4 separate regions of the Homo sapiens genome follow, and regions 1, 2 and 3 are each linked to region 4. The links are contacts of gene promoters, found by promoter capture Hi-C in human tissues and cell types (Jung and others, 2019). All regions are on one chromosome and are shown on one strand. The core of a region is centred on a gene start or on the middle of the fragment in contact, and the rest is flanking DNA. Distances in the headings are between cores, read along the strand shown. Region 1 overlaps PAX2 (paired box 2). Region 2 holds the start of SEMA4G (semaphorin 4G). Region 3 overlaps PAX2 (paired box 2). Region 4 holds the start of NDUFB8 (NADH:ubiquinone oxidoreductase subunit B8).

Evidence for each region. Contacts are between HindIII fragments. The study calls those that stand out against the background at their distance.
Region 1: a fragment that was not itself captured here is called in contact with the fragment with the promoter of NDUFB8 in region 4 in 2 of the 25 tissues and cell types used here (IMR-90 fibroblasts and bladder).
Region 2: a contact is called between the fragment with the promoter of SEMA4G here and the fragment with the promoter of NDUFB8 in region 4, in 1 of the 25 tissues and cell types used here (dorsolateral prefrontal cortex).
Region 3: a fragment that was not itself captured here is called in contact with the fragment with the promoter of NDUFB8 in region 4 in 1 of the 25 tissues and cell types used here (lymphoblastoid cells).

The regions. Positions count from the first base shown.
Region 1 is chr10:100,805,478-100,808,177 of GRCh38, reverse strand. PAX2 (paired box 2) reads right to left here. Exons shown (of 10, transcript NM_000278.5): 6 at 1,573-1,748. Among named protein-coding and RNA genes, the nearest start is that of PAX2, 61 kb to the right of the region's middle. RefSeq lists an enhancer at 172-672. The HindIII fragment of the contact is 4,632 bases long and covers 1-2,700 here.
Region 2 is chr10:100,968,056-100,970,755 of GRCh38, reverse strand. SEMA4G (semaphorin 4G) reads right to left here and starts at 1,252. Exons shown (of 15, transcript NM_017893.4): 1 at 1,165-1,252. RefSeq lists a silencer at 1,236-1,295. The HindIII fragment of the contact is 9,481 bases long and covers 1-2,700 here.
Region 3 is chr10:100,823,404-100,826,103 of GRCh38, reverse strand. It overlaps PAX2 (paired box 2), which reads right to left. Exons shown (of 10, transcript NM_000278.5): 8 at 1,355-1,456. Among named protein-coding and RNA genes, the nearest start is that of PAX2, 79 kb to the right of the region's middle. The HindIII fragment of the contact is 3,113 bases long and covers 1-2,700 here.
Region 4 is chr10:100,528,598-100,531,297 of GRCh38, reverse strand. It overlaps NDUFB8 (NADH:ubiquinone oxidoreductase subunit B8), which reads left to right and starts at 1,427. Exons shown (of 5, transcript NM_005004.4): 1 at 1,427-1,531; 2 at 1,792-1,918. The coding sequence starts at 1,447. RefSeq lists enhancers at 955-1,004, 1,138-1,720, 2,563-2,700. The HindIII fragment of the contact is 7,939 bases long and covers 1-2,700 here.

The sequences.
Region 1 (2,700 bases), core at 151-2,650, 280 kb before region 4:
TGTGATCGGAGAGAAATTAAAATGAACTCAATTAGGCTTCGGATTTGCTTTATGGGCCCTGCTCCGAGTTTCAGGGGGAAAAATGACTGTGCTGGTGTTTAATAGTCTAATGAAAGTAAATAAAGGTTATTCATTGTAATACAGGCGGGGACTCAGGGAGGGTGCACTGAGCCGCCCGCCTCGGCCAGCTCCTCCTTTGTTGGTTTATGGCTCAGGGCACCTTAAAAAGACTTTTGATTTTTGTTTTATGAAGACAAACAGCTTATGGGATAAAAGGACGGGCGGGGAGAAAGGCGAGTGGCTGGGAGCTGTTGGAGTCTTAAGAGTGGAACTACAGCGTTCAACGCTGTGGGGCTGCACTGACGTGCATGTGTGGGTGCGTGTGTGCATGCATGCAAGCACAGCAATGCTGTCTTGTGCTGTGACTGTGGGCCTGGCCTGGGCTGCATGTGTAGCAGGGATGGGAGTGTGCCCCTGTGTGGGAGCGGGTGTGCTGGGGGCTCCACCCAGCGTATGTGGGTGGAGGCATATGCTAGGGGTATGCTGAGCTGGTGATCTGGGGGCAGCACACACCCACTGGCTCCATGCGGCTGCCGGGGCTAGCTGTGAGTACCGTGGGCTGTGGGTGAGGGAGCAGGTGGGCGGTGGTGTGTGAGCACAGTACCGTGGGCTGTGGTCGGGGGAGCAGGTGGACAGTGGTGTGTGAGCACAGTACCGTGGGCTGTGGGTGAGGGAACAGGTGGGCGGTGGTGTGTGAGCACAGTACCGTGGGCTGTGGGTGAGGGAGCAGGTGGGCGGTGGTGTGTGAGCACAGTACCGTGGGCTGTGGGTGGGGGAGCAGGTGGACAGTGGTGTGTGAGCACAGTACCATGGGCTGTGGGTGAGGGGAGCAGGTGGATGGTGGAGTGTGAGCACATGCACACCAGCACATAGAAAAGTTCGGAGATGGTTTCTGCGTTGTGCGTTTTGCTGGTGTGTTACATGCTGTGCCCCATGCTATGTGTCCTGGGCTGCTCAGTGTCTGCAGAAAGTGTTGGGTGTAAGTGGGAAGCTGCCAGCCTACCTAGGGTTCCATTGAATTGCTGGCTTGGGGAGCAGGAGGCAGGCACAGGCAGGCTCTCCTGACACTGGGCAAGGAGAGCTCCCCAGTCTAGCGTAGACTTTCTGTAGGACCCTGAGGGGGTGTGGGCAAGGGACACAGCAAGAGGATGTTCCTGAGTACTCCATGCAAGAACCACAGAAAAGCGGAGCTAGAAGGGACTTGACAAACCCTACATCCAAGCCCTTCATTCTATAGATGGGGAAACCGAGGCTCTGAACAGAGATGATTTACCCAAGGCCATACTCTTGCACCCAGAACTCATTTCTAATTACCATATACAGACCATAATGATTTGTCTTAACGATACCATACTGTCTCATGTGAGCCTGTTCACACTGCACACACACAGAACACACGTGTGTAACACATACAATGCTGGCTATGCATGTGGTGTTTAGTGAACAAGTTTTTGAGAGGCCTTGCTCTGCCGGCTCCTTTCTACTTCTGCAAGCAGAAAGCTCCCTCCTCACCTGTTCTGATTTGATGTGCTCTGATGCCTGGAAGACGTCAGGGTAGGAAGGACGCTCAAAGACCCGATCCAAAGCTTCCAGCTGCTGCTGGGTGAAGGTGTCAGCTCGCAAGTGCTTCCGCAAACTGTCCACACCACTCTGGGAATCTCCATTGGGGACTGAGCCCTCAGACACATCTGGAGAACACATGGACACTCGGGGCGTTAGCGCCAGGCCAGCAGAGGCACAGGAACAGTGCAGGGCAAAGAGGTGGGCATCTGGTTCCGGGCCCAGGAGCTCTGCACCCCTATGGGACCCCTTACTCTCAGCCCCTGGGCCAGTGGGGCTGACACCAGAGGGTGGCCCTGCCTCAGAGATCTGGCTGAGGAAGCCCAAGGAAGAGAAGGACCTGAGGACCTGGTAAGAGATGGAGCGGTCACACTGTGGGGTCAGGAAGGATTAGGCAGAGGTGGAGCCAGGGGGCTCCCAGGAGCCAGCTCCCTGGGGCATGTCTCCCTGAACCACCCCCTGCCCCCAAGCCAGGGCCAGCCTGGGGAAGAAAGAAGCTGGGTGTCTCAGACTGGCATTACTGAGCCTGTGGAGAATTGAACTCGGCTCCGAGATGAATTTCAGTTCCACTAATTCCAAGGGTTGAAAACCATCAAATTTCCGAGGCCGAGTGTAACCTGGAGACTGGGTGAAGTAATCAACTTCGCCCTGAGGGAGGAGGGGCTCTGAGGCAGAGCTGAGGCACTCTGCTTGGGTTGGGCCAGGACTGAGGCCAGAGGGAAACCAAGCGGGAGGAAAGAGGTGTCGCTAGAGCAGCAAAGCTCCCGCTTGGGCAGAGCCCACAGAAGGGCCCCTGTGGATGCCTCTATGCCCTGGCCGCCTTCTCGGCCTCTGTCTCCAACCTAGACCCAGGCTCAAGCCTCCTACAGGAGCCAGTTTCTTGGTCACCTGGTTCCTCCTGCAAGTCTCCAGAGGGAGCAGAGTCTTATCACACCGGTGCCTGCTCCCCTGAGTCTACAGGCCAATCCTGTCTCCATGTCCCCTTTCCTCAGGCGTTCTCAGCCCTCCCCTATCCTTGCCTCCCAGCGTCGGTTCCTTGGAGTTTTCAAGGTGTACAGTAGGCAATGTGCCTGCTCTGTG
Region 2 (2,700 bases), core at 3-2,502, 440 kb before region 4:
GAACACACAACTACATCCATGCAGAGACAAGCACACATGCATACAGGGGTCCAGTTTTTGCCATAGGCTTGGAGGCTGCCAGTGTCCACTGGGGTGAGATGCAGAGCAGAACCCTGCCTCTGTTCCTGAAAGTCCCAATTCTAAGGCCCAATTTCAAGTGTGTGTTTGTGTGTGGGGGTGGTGAGGGGGTTGTGTGTGTGTGTGTGTGTGGTGATGGGGGAGGCTTCTGACCTTGGATGGGCAGATGGGATGGGTGCATGAGTCAAGGCCGCTCTACAAGGGAGGGAATGGGAAAGTAACTCAGGCAGGAGGAGGCCCCTAGCTTCAGCAAAGATGGAATGGAACGCATAATTTAGTACTCCTCCACCCCTATGTATATTGCGGTTCTAAAGGTGGGAGACGGGCTGGAGCTCTCAGCCCCCACTTAACCTGTGGGAGGGGGCGGGGCTAAGTGGGCGGGGCGGAGCATATCACCCCTCCCTTCAGTGGCGAAGTACGGGTTTAAGGTCTCCAGTCCACGCCCCACACTCCACCCCAAGTTCCACAGTTCGGGTTCTTCCCCAGGGCCAGCCCCCTGAACTCTGATCACCTTTCCTCTATTAGATCTTGGGGTGGAGGGAACTGGGGAGGAGAGACCCTTCAAACAGGATCAATGGAGGATCAGCAGGCTCTCGACCTTCATCCCAGATGTCCACCTGCCTAGTGTAGGCGGTATTTCCCTCTGCCTAGTAGGATGGCGGTCTCTCCTGGCTTGAGAGAGCCCCTCCCCCGGGACCCCCTCCCTCCAACATCCTGGACAGTCCGCGGTCCTCTCCCTTCGTCAGGTCTAACCTCAGTCTCTACTGCTGCAGCTCGAGGACAAGCTCTCCTTCGATCCCGCCGGACGCCGGGAGACGTGACCCAGATCCTGGGGAACACTGTTCGCCACGCGGCCCCCTCCCCGCGCTGGTCCCCGACTCCGTGGTGGCCGGTTTGCACCCCGCGCAGCCCGAGGCCTGGCCCGCGCCCCTCTAGAGCCGTCATGCAGGACCGGGGGACTTGGTGGTGAGAAAGGCCTGGCCCAGCTTGGAGGGTAGAATGGACGTGGGGGAGGCCTTGCCCGACCCCCGGCCCGCAGCCCCAGGCTCACGCCAGGGCGCCGCCCGCACTCCTCGCCTTGCTCACCTTTGCGCTCGGATCCGGGGCCATAGAGACAGCGACGCGCGGCTCCGCGGCCCCACAGCACCAGCTGCGAGAGGAAGGGGCCGCGGCTGGAGGCGGGGCGGGGGGGGGGTGGTGGAGGCGGAGCCGGGGGTGGGGCGGGGTCCTGAAAGGCGGGGCCGACTGGGTGGGGTGAGGGGAAGGTCGCCACTCTCTTCTTTGCGCCCCCTACTCTAGCACAATAGAGGCGGTTTGAGGGCGAGGCTCACACACAGCCTTCGGCCATCGGGCGACCCCCCACCTCTAGGCGCTGCGGCCCTGAAATCGCCCCCTGGTGGTGGCCTCGCCACCCCGTGCACCCTCCACATGCTTATAGCCCGTCCTCTCCTCCGCTGTAACCCTAGGACCCCCCTGACTTGCCTACTGCTGGGGACGTGCAAACCTGTCCTGGCGTTGCGGGGTTGGGGGACCCTCTCGGAGGGCCTTCTGGCCTGTCCTCTAACCTGGACCTCACTCCCTGTGCTCCTGCCACCCGCTTCTGCTCTCGGCCTAGGGTGTGGAGGGAAGGCTACCCTAGGTGGCGACTGGACGTTAGGGAAGCTCTGAACACAAGGTAGGGGCTTGATTCCCAGCTTCAGGGGCTGTTCAGCTTGAGCTATGCGTGGGGGAGATGGGGTCAGGCCTGAAGGGGATAAAGTAACAGCCTGACCTGAAAGGCACACAGAAAATGCTTTTTCTGGATAAATAAGCCACAAGCGTTTGCACCTGTTCACTCACCAAATCTTAACCCTAACCTAGGCTCACCTCAGGGACTGGGTCATTCAAACACTTGCCTTCCCCTCCAGCTCATCTTGGGCACCATTCTTATCCAGAACTTAGAGTGCACCCTTCTAGGCAATCAAGTACCCTATCCTTCCCAGATTCAATCACCTTACCCAGCAGCAATCTAGGAAACCCCTCACAATCAACTCCCCAACTCCTTTAACTCAACTAGGATGGTCCTTCTGTGCAAACTTGGTTCCTGCCTCCTTTAATAGGTCACAGCCTATTAAAGTGAACTTAGCCCCTATAGTCCAAACAAAACCTGCATTCAGGCCCTGACCCAGCCTGGTCCTTCCTCCTCCATCCATGACAGTATTCATGTGGGCTCAAGAGATGGACCAAAATGATAAAGGCCACAGGAACATATGTGATTGACTCTTGCATGTGCCTAGGAGTCAGAACAGGATTCAAGTGGCACATTTAACTAAAGGAAACTTGGGAAAGGCTTCATCCTTCTTTCTGGATTCCCCAAAGCTCACAGTTTGGCACTGAATCATATACAATCTCGTAGTTTGGATGGCTGTGTGTGACTGCAGACTGCTAGACAGCAGGGCCCACATCACAGTTCCACCTCCCCCAACACTCTGCAAATAGGATGTGTGTGGCGGGGAGAGGGAAGGTAGCTGGGGAGAAACACAATAAAAAATGTACACACACTTTTACAAAGAATATCCTGCTTCATTTTTTATTTGTACCCTCATCCCATCCTGAGGAATTTATAGCCCCATTTTATGGATG
Region 3 (2,700 bases), core at 115-2,614, 290 kb before region 4:
TATCTCCTTCCCCATCGCTAATGAAACAAGTGTAATTTCCTCATCAGCACTAGATTCTGTTTAACGACTCCCCCCTCGACACCACGAGCTCTCTGCGGCTCCCCTCTTCCCCACCTCCCTGCAGACTCCCTGCCCCCACCTCCCCACTCTTCCCTCACCCCACCTCTTTAAAACCTCCTCCAGCCCCCACCTGCTCACTGCTGGGAGTTTCTCCCTAAAATCTCCTTGCCTCCCAACAAGGCTTCTACTTTCCTTCCCCTAAATCTGGGCAGGAATCCCTTTACCCACACCTCTAACTCCCTTCAGCCCCTAGTCCATAAGACCCAGCAGCAATCTCCCTCTTTGCCGCTGCCCCTACCCCAAGCTCTGCTTACCCAGGGTTATACCTAAATGTCCCTGGATGGATGGGGCCAACCACTCTCTTCTATCCTCCCCATTCCCCATACCAATGAGAGTTGAACTTCAGGGAAAGGCCACATAGAGGGCGGCCAGAGGGAGTGAGTTGCTGGCTGAGTGAGTCTAACCCTCCTTAAGACAAGAGTGTTTTGGTGTTTGTGCACATAGGAACTTCAACTCTCTTTGGCTTCAAGACCCTGCTCCCAATCTGGGGTTAGGGGTTAGGTATAGTACAACCTCCAGCTGCAGTCACCAGACCTTAAATACAGCCTCTGTCTCTCTGATTCAAACAACCCAAACCCAACTCCTCTGATTAGGGATGGGTCAGAGCCCCAGGGAAGCAATGGAAGGCTGGGTGCCTCTGAAGAGGTATAGGGGTGTTCTAGCCTGTCTCACTGCAGCGACTCTCCCTGCTTCCCGCCGCAGCCTGACCTCCATTCCTCTTAGGGACTAGCTCCCTACTGTCTCTGGGTTGGGGTTGGGGTTGGTTCTCAACATTGGTCTTCCCTTGTGTCTTGGTGTGGACCAGGGTGGCTTTGTCTGAGTGACTGACATGCCCCTGGAAATGGTTCTTGGCTCCAAGTTTCCATGGAAACCAGGGCAGGCTCTTCCAAGCAGTGTCAGCTGGCTGGGGTGGGCTGGGCACTGAGGGTGGAGCTGAGGCTGAGTGCTCCTCGGGCACAGACTTGGGTGGGTGGGCGCTGTGGAGGGGCCATGACATACAGTGGGTTGCACACAAGGGGGCACTTCTGCAAGCTTCCTCCCCGGCTTGCTCATGAGGGAGGATGAGGGACCAACTGCAGCCTCTAAGGAGAGAGAGGGACAGAATAGCAGTGGTTTGCAGGGAGGGGACGTTGTGTCTCCCCCCACCCCAGCCTCAGACTACAGACCATTCAGCAGCTCACCCACAATTTAGTTCCCCCCACCTAGATTAGGCAGCTGCAGCATTGTCACCTACCAGGCACCATTCCTGCCAGGGTGGAGGTGGGGTAGCTTCCCTGGCCAGTGGGGGGCACGTGAGGGGGGTAACCAGGCAGAGTGGTGCTCGCCATGTCACGACCTGGAAAAACACAAAGGGGAAGGGGTGAGGCCTGGAAGAAAGGGGCCTGCCTCTACTCACACCAGGGTACTGCACGGAGAGGAAACTCTTGGAGAGGAAAGAGCTCTGTGCAGACGTGCAGGGGTATGTGTGCCACTGTGCACCTGAATGCGCCATCTGAGTGTGCCTTTGCATGTGTCTAAGCTAAATGTCTATGATCAGCTGTGTGTACGCATCTCTGTTTTGTGTAGCTCTTTGTGTCTCTGTGTATTTGTGTGTGTGTGTGTGTGTGTGTGTGTGTGTGTGTGTGTGTGTATCTGCCTTTGCCTGTGTCTCTGTGCATTCCAAACCCAGATGGAGATGGGAGGGAGATGACCTGGTTTTACTCCTCCTTCTCAGCAAGATATTCAGCTGTGGTCTCTCCAGCAGCCAAATGGACCTCTATCATCTTGCTTATCTTTCCTCTCCCTAACACCCCATCTTTCCTTCAGGCTTGGAGGACACCCCACCATCACCCCTACAGGGACTGATGGCTATTCCTTGTCCTCTCCAAGTGGAGCTGCAGGTCCTGGTCCTGGCAGGTGTGGAGAGCAGGGGGGCAGCCAGTGGGCTATTTTGCTGTTAGTGTTTATGGCATTTACATGATAGAAAACCACCCTGAAGTGAATCAGGAGCTTTGAGCCAAAAGTGCAAGTGGACCAGATAAAGTTCCAATGAGCAAAATCTGCTCCCCCACCAGCTGCTGGACTTCTGTCCCTGGAGGGCTCTATCAGCTAAAGCCTGGAGGGTGGGAGACAAAGCGAGTCAAGATGAGGGTGCTACCCCTGGTCCACCGACATGTCCTCTGGGACACAGCTGCACATGACTGGGCTCCCTACCTTGCCTGCATCCTCCATGGCTATGAAGGGGCCACCACCTCCCTTTGCAATTTAGCATGCTCTGATCTCTAATAATAATTTGCTTTCTCCCCTCTGCCATAATCTCTTTATCCTCTCCTGGACCTCCTGGAACCCCCTTAACCCCTCCAGATTCCCCTTATTCTCCTCACTAGCCAATGCCACTCTATTACTCTAATGCCTCTGTCTATCCTTGGGAAGGCAAGGCATGGCTGGAGAAAGTAACAGAACTATGCATACCTGGGCCCGTTCACTTTCTTTTCATCAGCTGGGCCATAGTCATTATTCTCCCAATGGCTATTCCAAAGCATCTCTCTCTCTCTTTGCTACTCTCCCTTTGAAGATGGCCTCACCTCCCTGCATTCCAGA
Region 4 (2,700 bases), core at 178-2,677:
CTGTGTTCAAGTGATTCTCTTGCCTCAGCCTCCTGAGTAGCTGGGATTACAAGTGTACACCACCATGCCCAGCTATTTTTGTATTTTTAGTAGAGATGGGTTTTTGCTGTGTTGGCCAGGCTGGTCTTGAACTCCTAACCTCAAGTAATCTTCCCACCTCAGCCTCCCAAAGTGCTGGGATTACAGGCGTGAGCCACCGCACCCGGCCTAAAAGGGTGAATTTATGGTATGTGAATAATATCTTAATAAAAATAAATAAATTAGATCAACTCTGTTTCTTGACCTAAATTGGATCAGGGTTTGCTATTGGTTGAATGCAGATGTTGTGCAATTATTCTGAACATCAACTAGTGATGTCATTTACAAGACAGCAAGTTGCTGTGTAGTCCTTCCCAAAATTTATATATTAAATAGTATATATCCATATTTGTTTACTTTTTATAACTTAAAAAAAAAGAGACGAAGTCTCACTATGTCACCCAGGCTGGTCTCAAACTCCTGGTCTCCAGCCATTCTCCAACCTAGGCCTCCCAAAGTGTTGGGATTACAGGTGTGAGCCACAGCTCCCAGCTTATATGCATTTTTATTGCTCTGATATATACTTGAGAATGTTTATAATAATAGGTTCTGCTCCAAAACAGTGGTCACCTGAAAAGTCACTGGAAATACGTGCATATTTATAATGTGTAAGTTATTCAAATCCCAAGTGAAAACATTCATATGCAAACATAATAATGTCTCCAATTCTTCTGTTGAGTTAGTTTGTTCATTATGGGCCGGTTTGTAATTTGTTTTATCCAAGTCCTACCAACTCTGAGGCTTTAAGCTGTCTCTGGAGAGCTGCCTCTGGTGATAAGTTTAATTTTACATTTGTTGGGTTGAGGTGACTGAGACATGCAGATGGAAACACGGACTGAAACTAAGGAGCCAATTCAGGGCCGAATTGTGTGTTGCACTGGCGTCTAAGTGAAGATCAACCCATTTGGAGAACAGAACAACAAGCAAGACCAACAGGTGAATTTGAAGAATGATCATGTTTGGGGATGGAAGGAAGTGCCCGTGAAGGAGAGGAAAGCAAGCAGCCAGAGAAGAGAGTAAGACAGGCTCATTTCACTAGTACAGCTCCTGGGGGAGGTGGTTAAGCTGTCTACCTGAGTTGCTCAGGTTCCGAGTTCCCATCATCCCTGGATGGGTCTAAGTCAGCTCAGGGAGAAAAAGGACACAACATTCTGAAATGTCAGAGACCTGCCTGGTTTTCCCTTCTTCCCGCTTATCCTTCCCAGCCTCTATCCAACCCTTGGCTTCCCAACTGCGTATTTAAACCCCGCCCCTGTTGAACCCTTCGGCTTTTCTTCACTCCCGGCTTCCTCCGTCACGTTTGGCCCGGCTCAGCCGCCGTGACAGGCCTTTGCGCATGTGCAGAAGGGAAACGTGAAGAAGGTGAAGATGGCGGTGGCCAGGGCCGGGGTCTTGGGAGTCCAGTGGCTGCAAAGGGCATCCCGGAACGTGATGCCGCTGGGCGCACGGACAGGTCCGCGAGAACGGGCGAGACCTCAGTGTGGGAAGGGGGTACCTGAAATTTGGTGTATCGGGAGGGGGGATCGTAGATGCCGCGGCGGCAGCCTCCGGGTAGGGAGTGGAGGTGGCGTTGATATATCCAGAAAATGGGGTGGAGGATCGCACTGATCCTGCGAAGTCCCGGGCTCGGACCTCTGCAGCCCCTGCGACTTGAAGCCTTCGGAGCGGCTGGAGAGCGGGCTCGCTTCTGACCTGTTCTCTTCTGCGTTCTAGCCTCCCACATGACCAAGGACATGTTCCCGGGGCCCTATCCTAGGACCCCAGAAGAACGGGCCGCCGCCGCCAAGAAGTATAATATGCGTGTGGAAGACTACGAACCTTACCCGGATGATGGCATGGGGTGAGACAGAGAGGGTATGCTCGCACCCAAGTAGTGATGGGAGAAGGCCGGCTGGGTTGGGTGGCTTGACTGTGACCCTTTTTCCCGAACCTTCTCGTGACCCCTCAGAGTCAATGGAGTGGGTGCTTTTCTCTGTGGAGGGAGGTGGGAGGGGGGTGGGTGAGCAGCTGCAGCTGAGAGGACTTCAATTTTCTCCTTGGCTCAGGCTGTTTCCTCAAATGAGGAAGCCGAGGTTTTAATGGCTCCCTCGAGGACCCCCGAATAGCAGGAGCCTTCCTTGGCTCTATCCAGAGCGTCGAGTTTCATTTAGATTGAGCATCTGCTGCGCTCAGGTGCTGTCATCCAGGCATGTGACCAGGCTGGAGCTGGACTCCTGTCATGAGAATCTTATTTGTAAACGGAGTACTCTATATTTGTGTGTATGTCTCTTTAAAAAAAATGTTTTTCTGTTAGTGCTGTGGAAATCGTAGCAACTATTAAGCAGATTAAACAGCCAGCCCCCTTACGTACTCCAGTTGATGTTATCCTATCCCTTCCACACTCTTCCGTATCCATACCCACATAACATCCCAATGGTTAATTATCTGAAGTGATTATCATCGCCTTTATTTCCTGTCCTAATGTCACTCTTTCAATCTTGGTTTCAGCAACTTCTATTCTTCTTGTTATACACTCATTTTCTGTAGCATATGTCTAGTTGTCATCATTTCCTGTTTTTTCTTATGTTGTGGACAAGAGCAGCCTTGTTCGAAGCCAGTGTCAGATGAACCTGGATTTGTTGG